Linked DNA regions of Homo sapiens: regions 1 and 2 are each linked to region 3. Evidence: promoter capture Hi-C in 16 types of primary human blood cells and fetal thymus (Javierre and others, 2016). All regions are on one chromosome and are shown on one strand. The core of a region is centred on a gene start or on the middle of the fragment in contact, and the rest is flanking DNA. Distances in the headings are between cores, read along the strand shown. Region 1 overlaps NWD1 (NACHT and WD repeat domain containing 1). Region 2 holds the start of LOC124904648 (a long non-coding RNA gene). Region 3 holds the start of CPAMD8 (C3 and PZP like alpha-2-macroglobulin domain containing 8).

What was found. The method cuts DNA at HindIII sites, captures the fragments that hold promoters and counts their contacts. A CHiCAGO score of 5 or more calls a contact.
Region 1: a fragment that was not itself captured here is called in contact with the fragment with the promoter of CPAMD8 in region 3 in 8 of 17 cell types (endothelial precursors, M0 macrophages, erythroblasts and 5 more); the score reaches 9.2 in endothelial precursors.
Region 2: a contact is called between a fragment that was not itself captured here and the fragment with the promoter of CPAMD8 in region 3, in 1 of 17 cell types (endothelial precursors). The highest score is 6.3, in endothelial precursors.

What each region holds. Positions count from the first base shown.
Region 1 is chr19:16,791,426-16,796,229 of GRCh38, reverse strand. NWD1 (NACHT and WD repeat domain containing 1) reads right to left here. Exons shown (of 19, transcript NM_001007525.5): 14 at 4,608-4,804; 15 at 1,677-1,767. It overlaps LOC124904648 (a long non-coding RNA gene), which reads left to right. Exons shown (of 3, transcript XR_007067150.1): 3 at 1-251. Among named protein-coding and RNA genes, the nearest start is that of SIN3B, 36 kb to the left of the region's middle. The HindIII fragment of the contact is 2,909 bases long and covers 1,737-4,645 here.
Region 2 is chr19:16,817,061-16,821,992 of GRCh38, reverse strand. It overlaps LOC124904648 (a long non-coding RNA gene), which reads left to right and starts at 761. Exons shown (of 3, transcript XR_007067150.1): 1 at 761-802; 2 at 897-982. It overlaps NWD1 (NACHT and WD repeat domain containing 1), which reads right to left. Exons shown (of 19, transcript NM_001007525.5): 19 at 4,040-4,932. RefSeq lists a silencer at 4,317-4,513. The HindIII fragment of the contact is 605 bases long and covers 1,857-2,461 here.
Region 3 is chr19:17,024,202-17,029,015 of GRCh38, reverse strand. CPAMD8 (C3 and PZP like alpha-2-macroglobulin domain containing 8) reads left to right here and starts at 2,206. Exons shown (of 42, transcript NM_015692.5): 1 at 2,206-2,465. The coding sequence starts at 2,374. RefSeq lists an enhancer at 1,126-2,034. The HindIII fragment of the contact is 6,852 bases long and covers 802-4,814 here.

The DNA of each region.
Region 1 (4,804 bases), core at 1,942-4,441, 230 kb after region 3:
TCAGGTGATGGCCCACCTTGGCCTCCCAAAGTGCTGGAATTACAGGCGTGAGCCACTGCACCTGGCCTGAATAATGCTTTTTAACCAATTGAATGTTACGTTTTCCAATACTACCTACCACCTGCCCCTCCCCCATCCTGTGCCTATAAAAACGCCCAGACTCAGCCACACTGAGAGAGATGACCCAACCTTCACATCCCCTCTCCCCTGAGAGCTGTTTTGTTGCTCAATAAAATTCTCTGTCCTTATCACTTTTCAATTGTCAGCATGACCTCATTCTTCTTGGACACGGGACAAGAGCTTAGGACTCACTGGATGCAGGTACCCAGGAAGGCTGTGACACTGTGGCCCTCTGTCCTTGATGGCAGAGGGAAGCTGCTCCACGCAATAGAAGCAGTGGTGGGGCCAAGCCAGTCCCAGAACTGCAGGCCAGAATGGGGAAAGGGGCTGACTGAACTGCTAACATGCCACCATCCATTGGGTTGCAGATGGTGGAACTAAAAGAGCAAATTAGGCCAGGTGTGGTGGCTCATATTTGTAATTCCAGCACTTTGGGAGGCAGACGCAGGCAGATAACCTGAAGTCAGGAGTTCAAGACCAGCCTGGCCAACATGATGAAACCCCATCTCTACTAAAAATACAAAAATTAGCGGGACGTGGTAGCAGGTGCCTGTAATCCCAGATACTTGGGAGACTGAGGCAGGAGAATCGCTTGAACCCGGGAGGTGGAGGTTGCAGTGAGCTGAGATCATACCACTGCACTACAGCCTACGCAATAGAGCGAGACTCGGTCTCAAAAAAAAAAAAAAAAAAAGGTAATTAGCACACTGTAACACCCCCTCTGGGGCTTCAGGGTCGTGGACCCCTTGTGTTTCCTTTGGGGTGACACATGGCCTGGTCTGCCCATGGGCCCTGCATGGAGCCTGGCCCTGTGTCAGTGCTTGAAGCAGCCAGCTGGACCCTACATTCACTTGCTCACATGCTCCCTCCTGCTAGGGGCTGAGTGCTCAGTCGTGGCAGTGGCCATGGGAGCCGCGGGCTGGGCCAAAAGCCAGATGTGACCCCACAGGCTGAATAAATGGGGTGCCCCCTGCTCCCAGCTTGGCAAAGAGGCCAAGAAAAATCCTGCATCAAAAGGAAAGAAAGGGCTGGGCGCAATGGCTCACGCCTGTGTAATCCCAGCACTTTGGGAGGCTAAGGTGGGCGAATCACCTGAGGTCAGGAATTCGAGACCAGCCTGGCCAACATGGTGAAACTCCGTCTGTACTAAAAATACAAAAATTAGCTGGGTGTGGTGGTGTGTGCCTGTAATCCCAGCTATTCAGGAAGCTGACGTGGGAGGATCGTTTGAGCCCAGAAATTCAAGGCTGCAATGAATTATGATTGAGCCACTCCACTCCAGTCTGGGTGACACAGCAAGACCCTATTTAAAAAAAAAAGAAAAATAATAGAAAAATAGTGTCTATGCTAGTTTATGTACCACAACTGCAGAGTTGAGTCTTTGCAACTGAGGTTGTCTCGTCTGGACTGCAAAAAATGTTTACTATGAGGCCATTTGGCAGAAAACGTTGCTAACCTCTGGCCCTAGGACTTCTCTCTGTTCCCAAGCCCCACCCCCTTCTCCAACCTGATCCTGATTAGCTTCCTCACTACTCCAAATGAGAGCTAAACGCTACCTGCGGCGAGGAGGGACTCATCTTCAGAGACCACCAGGAACCTCACAGCATCTGGAAGCTTCTCCAGCAATCTGTCCCCTTTGGAGGAAACCTGTGCAGAACCAGGGATGCCTGTCAGGCACTTCCACGGGTTAAGGGTTACAAGTCTGGAATTTTTTAATTTTTTAATTTTTATTTTTTTTGTTTTTGAGATGGAGTCTCACTCTGTCTCCCAGGCAGGAGTGCGGTGGTATGATCTTGGCTCACTGCAACCTCCGCCTCCCGGGTTCAAGCAATTCCCCTGCCTCAGCCTCCCAAGTAGCTGGGATTACAGGCACCTGCCACCATGCCCGGCTAATTTTTGTATTTTTAGTAGAGATGGGGTTTCACCATGTGGGCCAAGCTGGTCTCAAACTCTTGATCTCAGGTGATCCGCCCACCTTGGCCTCCCAAAGTGCTGGGATTACAGGCGTGAGCCACCATGCCTAGCTGACTCCATCTCTTAATAAAAATTTTAGCTGGGCATGGTGGTACACCCCTGTGGTCCCAGCTACTCAGGAGGCTCAAGCAGGAGGATCACTTGTGCCCCTAGGAGTTGGAGGCTGCAGTGAGCTATGATTGTGCCACTGCATTGCAGCCAGGGTGACAGACTGAGACTCTGTCTCTAAAAAATTTTTTAAATTAAAAACATAAAAGTTGGCCAGGTGTGGCGGCTCATGCTTGTAATCCCAGCACTTTGGGAGACCGAAGTGGGTGGATCACTCGAGGTCAGGAGTTTGAGACTATCCTGGCCAACATGGTGAAACCCCATCTCTACTAAAAATACAAAAATTAGCCGGGCGTGGTGGCACATGCCCGTAGTCCCAGCTACTGGGGAGGCGGAGGCAGGAGAATCGCTTGAAGCTGGGAGGTGGAGGTTTCAGTGAGCCGAGATTGCGCCACTGCATTCCAGTCTGGGCGACAGAGCAAGACTCAGTCTCAAAAAAAAAAACAACCAAAAACCAAAAAACAAAAAAACAGTTAAAAAAAAAAGGTAAAAAACAAATTCTGGCCAGGTACAGTGGGTCACGCCTGTAATCCCAGCACTTTGGAAGGCTGAATGAGCCCATAAGTTTGAAACCAGCCTAGGCAACATAGTGAGACCCCCACCTCTACAAAATAATAATAATAATAATTAGCCAGGCATGGGGGCATGCGCCTGTAGTCCCAGCTACTCAGGAGGCTGAGGCGAGAGGACGTCTTGAGCCCGGGAGGTCGAGGCTGCAGGGAGCCATGATCGTGCCACTGCACTCCCGCCTGAGAGATAAAGTAAGACCCTGTCTCAAAAAACAAAACAAAATATCTGCAAAGAGGCTTGAGAAAAAGAAAAACAACCCCAAGGATTTGGGAGTATCTTTCGTTGTTGTATTTGGTACCTTGAGAACTCATGAAGACCACAGGTCATGAGGTTCAGAAATGTGGAGCTTTGGGATTTGGGATGATTCTTCTTCTTCTTTTCTTTTCTTTTTTTTTTTATTTTTTAATTTTTTTGAGACAGGGCCTGGCTCTGTCACTCAGGCTGGAGTGCAGTGGTGCAATCTTGGCTCACTGCAGCCTCCACCTCCTAAGCTCAAATGATCCTCCCACATCAGCCTCTCAAGTAGCTGGGAGTACAAGTATGCACCACCATGATTCCTTTCTTTTTTTTTTTTTTTTTTTGAGATGGAGTTTTGATCTGTCACCCAGGCTGGAGTGCAATGGCATGATCTCGGCTCACTGCAACCTCCACCTCCCGGGTTCAAGTGATTCTCCTGCCTCAGCCTCCCTAGTAGCAGGGATCACAGGCACCCACCACCACACCCGGCTAATTTTTGGGCTTTTGTTTTTGTTGCTGTTGTTTTTTGTTTTGTTCTGAGATGGAGTTTTGCTCTTAATGTCCAGGCTGGAGTGCAGTGGTGCAATCTTGGCTCACTGCATCCTCCACCTCCTAGGTTCAAGCAATTCTCCTGCCTCAGCCTCCCAAGTAGTTGGGATTACAGGTGCTCACCACCACGCCCGGCTAATTTTTTGTATGCTTTTTTAGTAGAGATGAGGTTTCTTCATGTTGGCCAGGCTGGTCTCGAACTCCCAACCTCAGGTGATCCACCTGCCCCGGCCTCCCAAAGTGCTGGCATTACAGGTGTGAGCCACCGTGCCTGGTCAATTTTTGTACTTTTAGTAAAGACAGGGTTTTGCCATGTTGGCCAGGCTGGTCTCGAACTCCTGACCTCAAATGATCCACCCCCCCTCAGCCTCCCAAAGTGCTGGGATTACAGGAGTGAGACACAGCGCCCAGCCAGTCTATATGTTAATGTCCATGAAAGCAGCCGTCCACCAACCACCAACAGGGCAGGTGGATAGAGCCCAACTCCTAGTCCCTCTGTGGCGCAACTCTCAACCTCATTCCACACCATGTCTTAGAGATCCCCTGAAGGACTGAGCTTCAACAATTGCCCACATTGGTCAGTCCCCAAGAGACGCCAACAGATGTTTCCTGAACTGTGCTGAACTGCAAATCCCTACGATTAAGAAGCCAAGCGTGTGGCCGGGCACGGTGGCTCATGCCTGTAATCCCAGTACTCTGGGAGGCCGAGGTGGGCAGATCATCTGAGGTTGGGAGTTTGAGACCAGCCTGACCAACATGGAGAAACCCTGTCTCTACTAAAAACACAAAATTAGCCAGGCGTGGTGGCACTTGCCTGTAATCCCAGCTACTCGGAAGGCTGAGGCAGTGAGAATCGCTTGAACCCGAGAGGCGGAGGTTGCAGTGAGCTGAGATTACACCATTGCACTCCAGCCTGGGCAACAAAAGTGAAACTTCATCTCCAAAACAAAACAAAGATACAAGGCAAGATTATTTTTCCCAACTTCTAGCACATCTGAGCACTTTCAAGCTGAGTTAATGTTCACATCATAGTCAGTAAAGGTGCTTACCAAAGAGATGGAGCCATTGCTAAACCCGGTAACAAGCTTTCCTTGCTTCTGGACTGAGACGGCACAGGTAGGTGTTTCTTCTTTGATGCTGGACATATGTTGCTTCCCCTGAAGTTTTCCCGTAGCTGAGCTCCACAGACTGACCACACCATCCCTGGACACTGTCAGCAGTGTGGCCTGGGAGGCCAGCACGGCCA
Region 2 (4,932 bases), core at 910-3,409, 210 kb after region 3:
AGGCCAGCCTGGCCAACATGGTGAAACCCCCATCTTTACTCAAAAAAAAAAAAAAAAATTAGCCAGGCGTGGTGGCGGGCGCCTGTAATCCCAGCTACTCAGGAGGCTGAGGCAGGAGAATCGCTTGAACCCAGGAGGTGGAGGTTTCAGTGAGCCAAGACCATGCCACTGCACTCCAGCCTGGGTGACAGAGCAAGACTCTGTCTCAAAAACAACAACAACAACAACAACAACAAAAACCCTGCATGGGCCGGGCGCAGTGGCTCACGCCTGTAATCCCAGCACTTTGGGAGGCCGAGGCAGGTGGATCACCCGAGGTCAGGAGTTCGAGACCAGCCTGATAAATATGATGAAACTCCGTCTCTACTAAAAATACAAAAATTAGCCAGGCATGGTAGCATGTGCCTATAATACCAGCTACTCAGGAGGCTGAGACAGGGGAATCTCTTGAACCCAGGAGGCAGAGTTTGCAGTGAGCCAAGATCGCGCCATTCATTGCACTCTAGCCTGGGCAACAAGAGCGAAACTCTGTCTCAAACAAAAACAAAAACAAACAAACAAACAATGCCCCCCGACCCCCACCCCGCCCCAGAATCCTGTTTTATCAGCAGGGTCTTTGTGACCTGGGTCTTCCGTCCACCTCCTACCTCACCCTGTGGCTTAGAATGCCTAACCTCCCGGGAATGCAGCCCTGCAGGTCTCAGCCTCATTTTACCCAGCCCCTATTCTAGATGGAGTAAGCTTGTTTCAAACGCCTCTGACAAAACCACAAGCCAGTTCCATCTGGGGCATGTGTGTACATGTATGTATGTGCACACATGTGTATATTTATCATGAGGACAATAGTACAAAGACATCTTTTAATTTTATTTCCATTTATTTATTTTCTGAAACAGGTACTCGCTCTGTTGCCCAGGCTGGAGTGCAATGGTGCAATCACAGCTCACTGCAGCCTTGACCTCCTGAGTAGCCAGGACTACAGGTACGTGCCACCATGCCTGGCTAATTTTTTATTTTTATTTTTTTTACAGACAGGGTCTCACTAAGTTGCCTAGGCTGGATATTCTTATTTTTATCAAACATAAAAAGGTGCTACTGGGCCAGGTGCAGTGGCTCAAACCTGTAATCCCAGCACTTTGAGAGGCAGGCGGATCACTTGAGGCCAGGAGTTTGAGACCAGCCTGGGCAACACAGCAAGACCTCATCTCTAAAAAAATTTTTTTTGTTTTTTGAGACAGAGTCTCACTCTGTCACCAGGCTAGAGTGCAGTGGCATGATGTTGGCTCACAGCAACCTCCATCTCCTGGGTTCAACTGATTCTCCTGCCTCAGCCTCCTGAGTAGCTGAGACTACAGGCGCGCACCACCATGCCCAGCTAATTTTTTGCATTTTTAGTAGAGACAGGGTTTCACCATGTTGGCCAGGATGGTCTGTATCTCTTGACCTCATGATCTGCCAGCCTGGGCCTTCCAAAGTGCTGGGATTACAGGTGTGAACCACTGCACCTGGCCAAAAAAAAATTTTTTTAAAAGACAATCTGAGTCTGAGTCTGAGTCTGAGTTTGAGGTCAGAGATGAAGCATCAGAGAAATACAATGCTGCTGGCCTTGAAGAAGGAAGCAGCTGTTTTGCAAACTGCCTATGGAGAGGGGCAGCTGAGGTCTCCACTCCTATAGCTTTGAAGGGCTTAATTCTGCCAAGAATCTGAAGGAGCTTGGATGAAGACCCTGAGGCTCTCAATGAGAGCCCAGTCCGGCTGACACCTTGTGAGATCCTGAACAAAGAATCCAGTCATGCCATGCCCAGACTCCTGACTTGCAGAAATTGTAAGATAAGAAGTGGATGTTATTTTAAGCTTCTAACTTTGCAATAATTTACTAAGTAGTGATGGAGAATGGACACACCTATGAAGTATACTTGTCAAAAATGTCTATCCTGGGCCAGTTGCAGTGGCTCATGCCTGTCATCCCAGCACTTTGGGAGGCCAAGTCGGGTGGATCACTTGAGGCCAGGAGTTTCAGACCAGCCTGGCCAAAATGGCAAAACCCTGTCTCTACTAAAAATACAAAAATTAGCCTGGTGTGGTGGCGTACACCTGTAATTCCAGCTACTTGGGAGGCTGAGGCAGGAGAACGGCTTGAACCCGGGAGGCGGAGGTTGCAGTGAGCCGAGATCGCACCATTGCACTCCAGCCTGGGCAACAAGAGCAAAACTCCGTCTCAAAAAAAAAAAATTGTCTCTCCTCTGATAAGGAAGTGTCAATGCGAGTTCATCCATTGTAACAAATGCACCGCTCTGCGTTTGTTAGAGTGAGGGATGTTGATGGAGGAGGCTGTGCATGAGGGGTGCATAGGGTAGATGGGAAATCTCTGCACCTTCCACTTAATTTTGCTGTGAACCTAAAACTACTCTAAAAAAAGAAAGCCTATATAAAAGATGTTTACCCTAAATTTAGCCAAGCTTTAAGACCAAGGGTAGGCATATATACATAAGTATATGTGTGTGTGTGTGTATGTATATATGTGCATATACACATATGTATATACATATGTGTGTGTATATATACATATATACATATGTATGTGTATATATACATATATACATATGTATGTGTGTATATACACACATATATACGTATATATGTATATGTGTATATATATGTGTATATATGTGTGTGTATATATGTGTATATATGTGCATGTATATATATAGACACGTATATATTTGGTAAATATATATATATATTTTGGTAAAGGGCCAGATTAGAAATATTTCTGATGGCCAGGCGCCATGTAATCCCAGCACACTGGGGGGATCGCTTGAGCCCAAGAGTTGGAGACCAGCCTGGGCAATATAGTGAGACACCCTCTCTACAATAAATTTAAAAATTAACCAGGTATGGTTGTGCACATCTGTAGTTTCAGCTACTTGGGAGGCTGAGGCAGGAGGATCACTTGAGCTCATAAGTTCAAGGCTGCAGTGACCCATGATCATACCACTGCACTCCAGCCTGGGCGACAGAGAGAGACCCTCTCTGAAAAATAAAAAAGATATTAACTAACAATTAGTAATTCTCACAGGTGTGTGTGCTTATATAGGAATATGACCTTCCTAAGACACTTGTCTGATGTATGTAGGGGTGAGGTGTCTTGATGTCCCCAGGGCCAGGAAGAGGGTGAGGTCAGTTCCTGCAAATGCAGGGTCAGATACCAATTTTATATAGAATGTTGATGTTTTGTTCATCATTCATTTTTAAATTCATTTTGATTTTTAAAAATATGATAATAGGCCACACACGGTGGCTCATGCCTGTAATCCCAGCACTTTGGGAGGCCAAGGGAGCACAGATCACTTGAGGTCAGGAGTTCAGGGCCAGCTTGGCCAACATGGCAAAACCTCGTCTCTACAAAAAATACAAAAATTAGCTGGGCGTGGTGGCCTGTAGTCCCAGCTACTCAGGAGGCTGAGTCAGGAGAATCGCTTGAATCCAGGAGTCAGAGGTGCAATGAGCCGAGGTCGCACCATTGCACTCTAGTCTGGCAGCAGAGCAAGGCCTTGACAAAAAAAAAAAAAAAAGATAACAAAATATTATTTGTCTTCCAAAAGAAAAGAAAACAAGAAAAAAAAGAGAGAGAAAACATTATTTGTCATGATTGCTGAGCTTTTCGGCATCCCTTAATTTTATTTTATTTTTTTTCTGAGACATGGTCTCACTCTCTTGCCCAGGCTAGAGTGCAGTGGTGCGATCATAGCTAACTACAGCCTTGATCTCCTGGGCTCAAGTGATCCTCCCACCTTGGCCCCCTGAGTAGCTAGGACTGCAGGTGTGCACCACCATGCCCAGCTAATTAAAAAAAAATTTTTTTTTTTTTTTTTGGAGAGACAGGGTCTCAAACTCCTGGGCTCAAGTGATCCTTCTACCTTGGCCTTTCAAAGTGCTGGGATTACAAGCATTGACCAGCCAACTGTCAAACTTTCTTAGCAACCAAACTCTTTTTCAAATGAATAAACACTGCAAAAACTCCCAATATAAGCAATAATTTGTTGTAGCATTTTATTAGTAAAAAGGCATTTCCAATGTTTAAATTAGGATTTATCTACAAAACAATCAATTCTCACTGAGGCTGTGGAGATGGACACAGGCATTTAAAATCAGAATTTGTAGGTGAAATCTTAATTGGTCTCAACATCTACTTTATTTCTGCATTGGGTAAGCCCTTGATTCACAGAGAAGCAGTGGCAAAGAGTAGCTAATTTTTTCAGGGCTCCCTTCACAATTTAATTGGGCTCTTCAGTTAAATCAGTTAAATGAAAATGGCAGAAGAATCCTAAATTATTAGGTTGATGCAAAATTAATTGTGGTTTTTGCCATTACTTTTTTTTTTTTTTTTTTTTGGAGACAGAGTCTCTGTCACTCATGCTGGAGTGCAGTGGTGCGATCTCGGCTCACTGCAACCTCCGCCTCCCGGGTTCAAGCCATTCTCCTGCCTCAGCCTCCCAAGTAGCTGGAATTACAGGTGTACGTCACCACACCAGGCTAATTTTTGTATTTTTGAGTAGAGACAGAGTTTCACCATGTTGACCAGGCTGCTCTTGAACACCTGGCCTCAAGTGATCCACCCGCCTCAGCCTCCCAAAGTGCTGGGATTACAGGCGTGAGCCACCGAGGCTTTTGCCATTATTATTATTATTATGAGATGGAGTCTTGCTCTGTCACCCAGGCTGGAGTGCAGTGGCACAATCTCAGCTCACTGCAACCTCCGCCTCCCGGGTTCAAGTGATTCTCCTGACTCAGCCTCCTGAGTAACTGAGATTACAGGCACTCACCACCATGCCTGGCTGATTTTTGTATTTTTAGTAGAGAAGGGTTTCACCATGTTGTCCAGGCTGGTCTCAAACTCCTGACCTCAGGTGATCCACCTGCCTCGGCCTT
Region 3 (4,814 bases), core at 957-3,456:
TCTTGCCAGGCAGGGGGCATATTTGGCAAGAGTAGCTGAACGGTCGGTCAGGACATCGTGGTCCTGTGTGGCTCAACCATGCCAAGGCAGCACTGACATTTTAGACCTTACAAACCAGGCAGGCAGGGAAGGCACCTCCGGGCTAACCCTGAAGGTGGAGGAGAGCAGCCGGTCTTGTGATGCCACGGGGAAGTGCATCCCAGGCAGAGGGGACAGCTGGCACCTTGGCCCAAGATGGTGGTGGTGGGTGGGGGTCTGATGTATCTCAGGAGCAAATGTGGCCAGAGCCCAATGGTCAAGGGGGAGGCGGAGGGCTCAAAGGCTGGCCTGGAGGCTGAGGAGTGGAGGTTGGCTTAGGTAGGAGTCAGAGTTGGCCTGGAGGGGCCCGGAGGGGTGGCATGGGGCAAACTTCGATGATGAGGGTGAGATCAGATGCTGCTTCTTGGTGCTAGATTTTTGCACCTCCATGTGAGTTTAGCAGCCTGTTTGGGGTTGGCCTGGTCTGAGCTTGGAGGCAGGCAGCTCCTCCTCTTCTCCAGGCAGGAGAGACGGCTACTCAATCTACTCCGGCCCCTGCGCGCGTGCACGCACACACACACACCAACACACCATCATCAGTTACGTCCCCTCTGGGTTGTGTGCTCAGTGGCAGCAGGTCCTGTATGTCCCAGGGTCCTCATTGCCCAGCCCAGGGCTTGGTGCTGCCTGGGTGATCAGTGTTGGGTCCAAAGGCTGTTGACAGGGCTGAGAAGCCCCCAGAGGACCCACATCCCTAGGGGCAGGGAGGGGGCAAGAGAAGCTTCCCTTGAGTTTCCTGGAAGGATCAGGAGTTGGACTGGCAAAGGAGGCAGGTAGAGGAAGACAGAGATTAGGCAGAAGCAGGCAGTGGAGTAAGAACAGGGTGTTGGAGGAACTAGGCTGAGGTCTCTGCCATCAAAGCCAGAGTTTAGATTTGGTCTCAATAAACGGGAAGCCCTGGCTGGATGTGGTGGCTCACACCTGTAATCCCAGCACTTTGGGAGGCTGAGGAGGGAGGATCATTTGAGCCCAGTGCTCAAGACCAGCCTGGGCAACACAGTGCGACTCCGTTTCTAAAAAAAAATATATAAAAATTAGCTGGGTGCGGGCTTGCACCTGTAGTCCCAGCTACTCTCCAGGAGTCTGAAGCTGCAGTGAGCTGTGACTGCACCACTAAATTCCTGCCTGGGCAACAGAGCAAAACTCTGGTCTCAAAACATAAAAATAAAATGTAAAATAAACAGGGAGCCCCGAGGATTCCGGGCAGGAGGGGGTGTGGTCAGCACTGGAATTTTAGAAGAAGGGCAGTTGGTAGCTGGGGGAAGGGGGTTCCACACTGGAAGGAGGGGGTCCAGGACTTGGACATGGTATAGGATGTGCCGCCTGCCAGTGGGACCTAGGACAGCAGGACCATCACTGAGGTGGCCACACGGGGAGGGGCAGGAGGGGACACCCTGCTCTTGGAGAGAAAGGGGGTGCCCATCCACCCCTGCTGTATGAAGGGGAAAGGGGGACTCTGAGGCCCAGCGAGAGAGGGGACGGGCCCAAGGGATTTGTGGACAGTGGGGGTGGGGGAGAGGGGAGCAGAGAGCACAGATAGGGACCTGGGGCAGATGTGAGTCTGGGAGGTTCGACCCCTGGCTAGACTGTTTCCCCAAAGGGTCCTCTGCTCCTTGGGCTGTACGCACTGCACTGGGCACTAGATACAGGCCAGGGCTTAGGGCACGGCGGCGCCTGTGGGATCGGGGTTGCAGGCGGCGTCCAGACCCAGGGGCCCCTGGTGAGGGGCGGGCCCGGGGAGGGGGCCATAAGGGGCTGGCTGGGGAGGGAGGGAGGGAGAGGCCAGGGAAGGGACAGGTTCCGAGTGGACGCTGGGTGGAGAGGAGAGGGAGAGTGGGGGCGGTGGGGGGTCGGGTCCGAGGCGGGGCTGGTGGGGAGGGGGGCATCCGGGGGCGAATCCGGGTAGGGGGTGAGGAGGCGGGTTCGGAAGGAATCGGGCAGGGCCCGGGTGGGTCCGGTGAGTAAGTGAGGGGACGATCCCCGGAAGGGATCGGGGCGGGTCGGGGTCCGGAGATGGGCGGAGCAGGCGTCCCGGGAGGGTGCGCCCAGGAGCGGGGCGAGCGGGGCGAGCGGGGCGGTCCCGGAGACGAGGCGGGTCCGGGGAGGGGGCTGGCCCGGGGCTGCCCCAGCTTGGCCGGGCGCGGAGCGGGGCGCATGGCGCCGGGCGCACTGCGCGGGGGCTGCGAACAAAGGGCCCCCGGCGGCGGCGCGAGGACGGCCGCGCTCGGACCCTGGCCCTGGCCCAGCCCTGGCCCGGCCCCCTCCCCAGGCGCGGCGCCCCCCAGGAGCCGAAAAATGAGCGGCGCCCTGCTCTGGCCGTTGCTCCCGCTCCTGCTCCTGCTGCTGTCGGCGCGGGACGGCGTGCGCGCCGCGCAGCCTCAGGCCCCGTGAGTATCCTCCGGCGACAGAGGAGGTCGGTCGCCTTCTGGGGTGGGGGTCGCGGGTACTGGCTCAGAGTGTTGCAGCGACCTGCCCAAGGCCACACAGCCTCCGCGCTGGGCTGGACCTGGCCTCTTGTTCCCGAATCGTCTTGAGGAGGGGGCGCCCTAAAGTTTCCGAAGTGGCTCTGTGGAGGTACAGGGACTCCCAAAAGCTAAAGGTGCTGAGGTCAGCTCCCCCCGCCCCACCTCGCCCCCTTCGTGTGACCCGGGCTGTCATCATGGGTGGCGATTTCCAGTTGTCCAAGGTATGAAGGTAAGAGGAGCGTCTTGGCTGAGAAGTGGGAGGAGAGTGCGAAGGGGCACTTTCCCGTGGGTGGGCGTGGTGAGGGAGGAGGAAGTGTTTGTTTTGCTTCTACATTTTTCTAGAGGTTTGCTTGCAGGCTTCTGGTGGGTTGACAGCGGGGAGAAGGTGAATTAACTAACTGCTGGGGAGTACTGCTAAGTTGGCTTCACAGAGAATATTTCTAAACCTGGCAAGTTCGGGTGAGCTCTGCAGGGCTGCGGGTTCAGGGGGGCTGCCCTGGTCTGCACAAGACCAGCCTTTTAGTCCAGCTGGGCGTTTAGAAGGCGGCTTGTTCAAGCAGCCCTTGTTTAGGAGTTTCCAGAAAACTGGTAAGCAGTGAGACTAGGTGGGTGTCGTTATTTGCAGTGAGTAGTTGGTCCTTGCTGGTCACAGTTTTAAAAGCAAGACAGTCTACTGCGCTCTGAGCATCCAGACTTCCCTCTCCTAGGCTTCGTGAAATCGGAACCCTACAAATTTTCATCCTAATGCTTCTTTCAAAGCTGGCATCCCTTAGAATAGTGGTTCTCAGCCCTGGGGGGGATTTTTGTCTCCCTGAGGCCGCTGGGAAATGTCTGGAGGTATTTTTGGTTGTCACAAATAGGGAGAGGCATTTGGTGTTGGCATTAAGTGGGTGCAGGCCAGGAATGCTGGTAAACAGCTTTCGATGTGCAGGTCAGCTTCCACTGCAAGGAATGACGCGGCCCCACATGACAGACCTTGGCTCCAATGAGAGACCCTGCCTTATACAGAGGTTTTTGTTTGTTGTTTGTTGTTTTTGGGGTTTGTTTTTGTTTTTGTTTTGAGATGGAGTTTTACTCTTGTTGCCCAGGCTGGAGTGCAATGGCACGATCTTGGCTTACTGCAACCTCCGCCTCCCAGGTTCAAATGACTCTCCTGCCTCAGCCTCCTGAGTAGCTGGGATTACAGGCGTGTGCCACCACACCCGGCTAATTTTTTGTATTTTTAATAGAGATGGGGTTTCTCCATGTTAGCCAGGCTGTTCTGGAACTCCTGACCTCAGGTGATCCACCCACCTCCGCCTCCCAAAGTGCTGGGATTAGAGGCGTGAGTCACCGTGCCTGGCCCGTTAGAGAGTTTTAAACAGTTCTCCAGGGCGTTTTCCTCTGACTAAAGTCACCCTGTGATCTTACCATCTGTTAAGTGACATGGAATCCCTGTGCTGAGAGACACACTGGGGAAGAGATGTCCCCAAATGACCGACCTGGGATTCCAGATTAGCTGGCCTCTAAGCCAGGGGCATGGTTCACCCAGCCCAAAGGATCTCGTCTTAGGAATAGCTCTGGATGCCCACTTCTGTCACCTGAGAGATTTTTGTGTGAGGAATCTCTGATCCCAGAAAGCAGCACAGTTTGCAGTTGTAAGAGCAATTCTGTCTACACTGACCCAGACATCCCTTTCCCCAATCTGGGACCTTCTGAGACCAGCAGGATGAGAAGCAGTGTTGGCCCAGATGCTAGGGGTGGGTCAGGTGTGACAGTGAATGGCTGGCAAGCATCCCAACAGCTGGAAACAGCTGCAACTTCTGAATGGCAGGGAAACTTAATTTGGTGATGTCAGTTTCTCTGGGCAGTTGGATGAAGACTTGAACCCGTATTGTCAGGAGTTTCAAAGGTGACCAAGCAAAATGAACACGTATTCCTTACTCTCTCTTCTACACTCACCATGTACTATATGTGAGGCCCGTCTAAACTCTAGGGATCAGCTGGGAGCCAGACAGAAAGAGTATTCCCCTTTTAAAGGATGCCACATTCCAGTGCTGGAGCTGGACAGGACACCTGGACAGGGTAATTGCATGTCCTGGTCAGTGCTGGAGTTATGTAATACACAGCACATACCCAGGGTCTTGCAAACTCCAGTTGGTCCTAGAGTTGGACAGCACATGTGTGATCCCAGGGGACTGAACTCTGGTAATTATTCAAGGCAGATGTAGCACACTATGATCACAGGGTCAGTGCACACTGTGGCCAGGGCTGCAGTAAACAACCCAAACC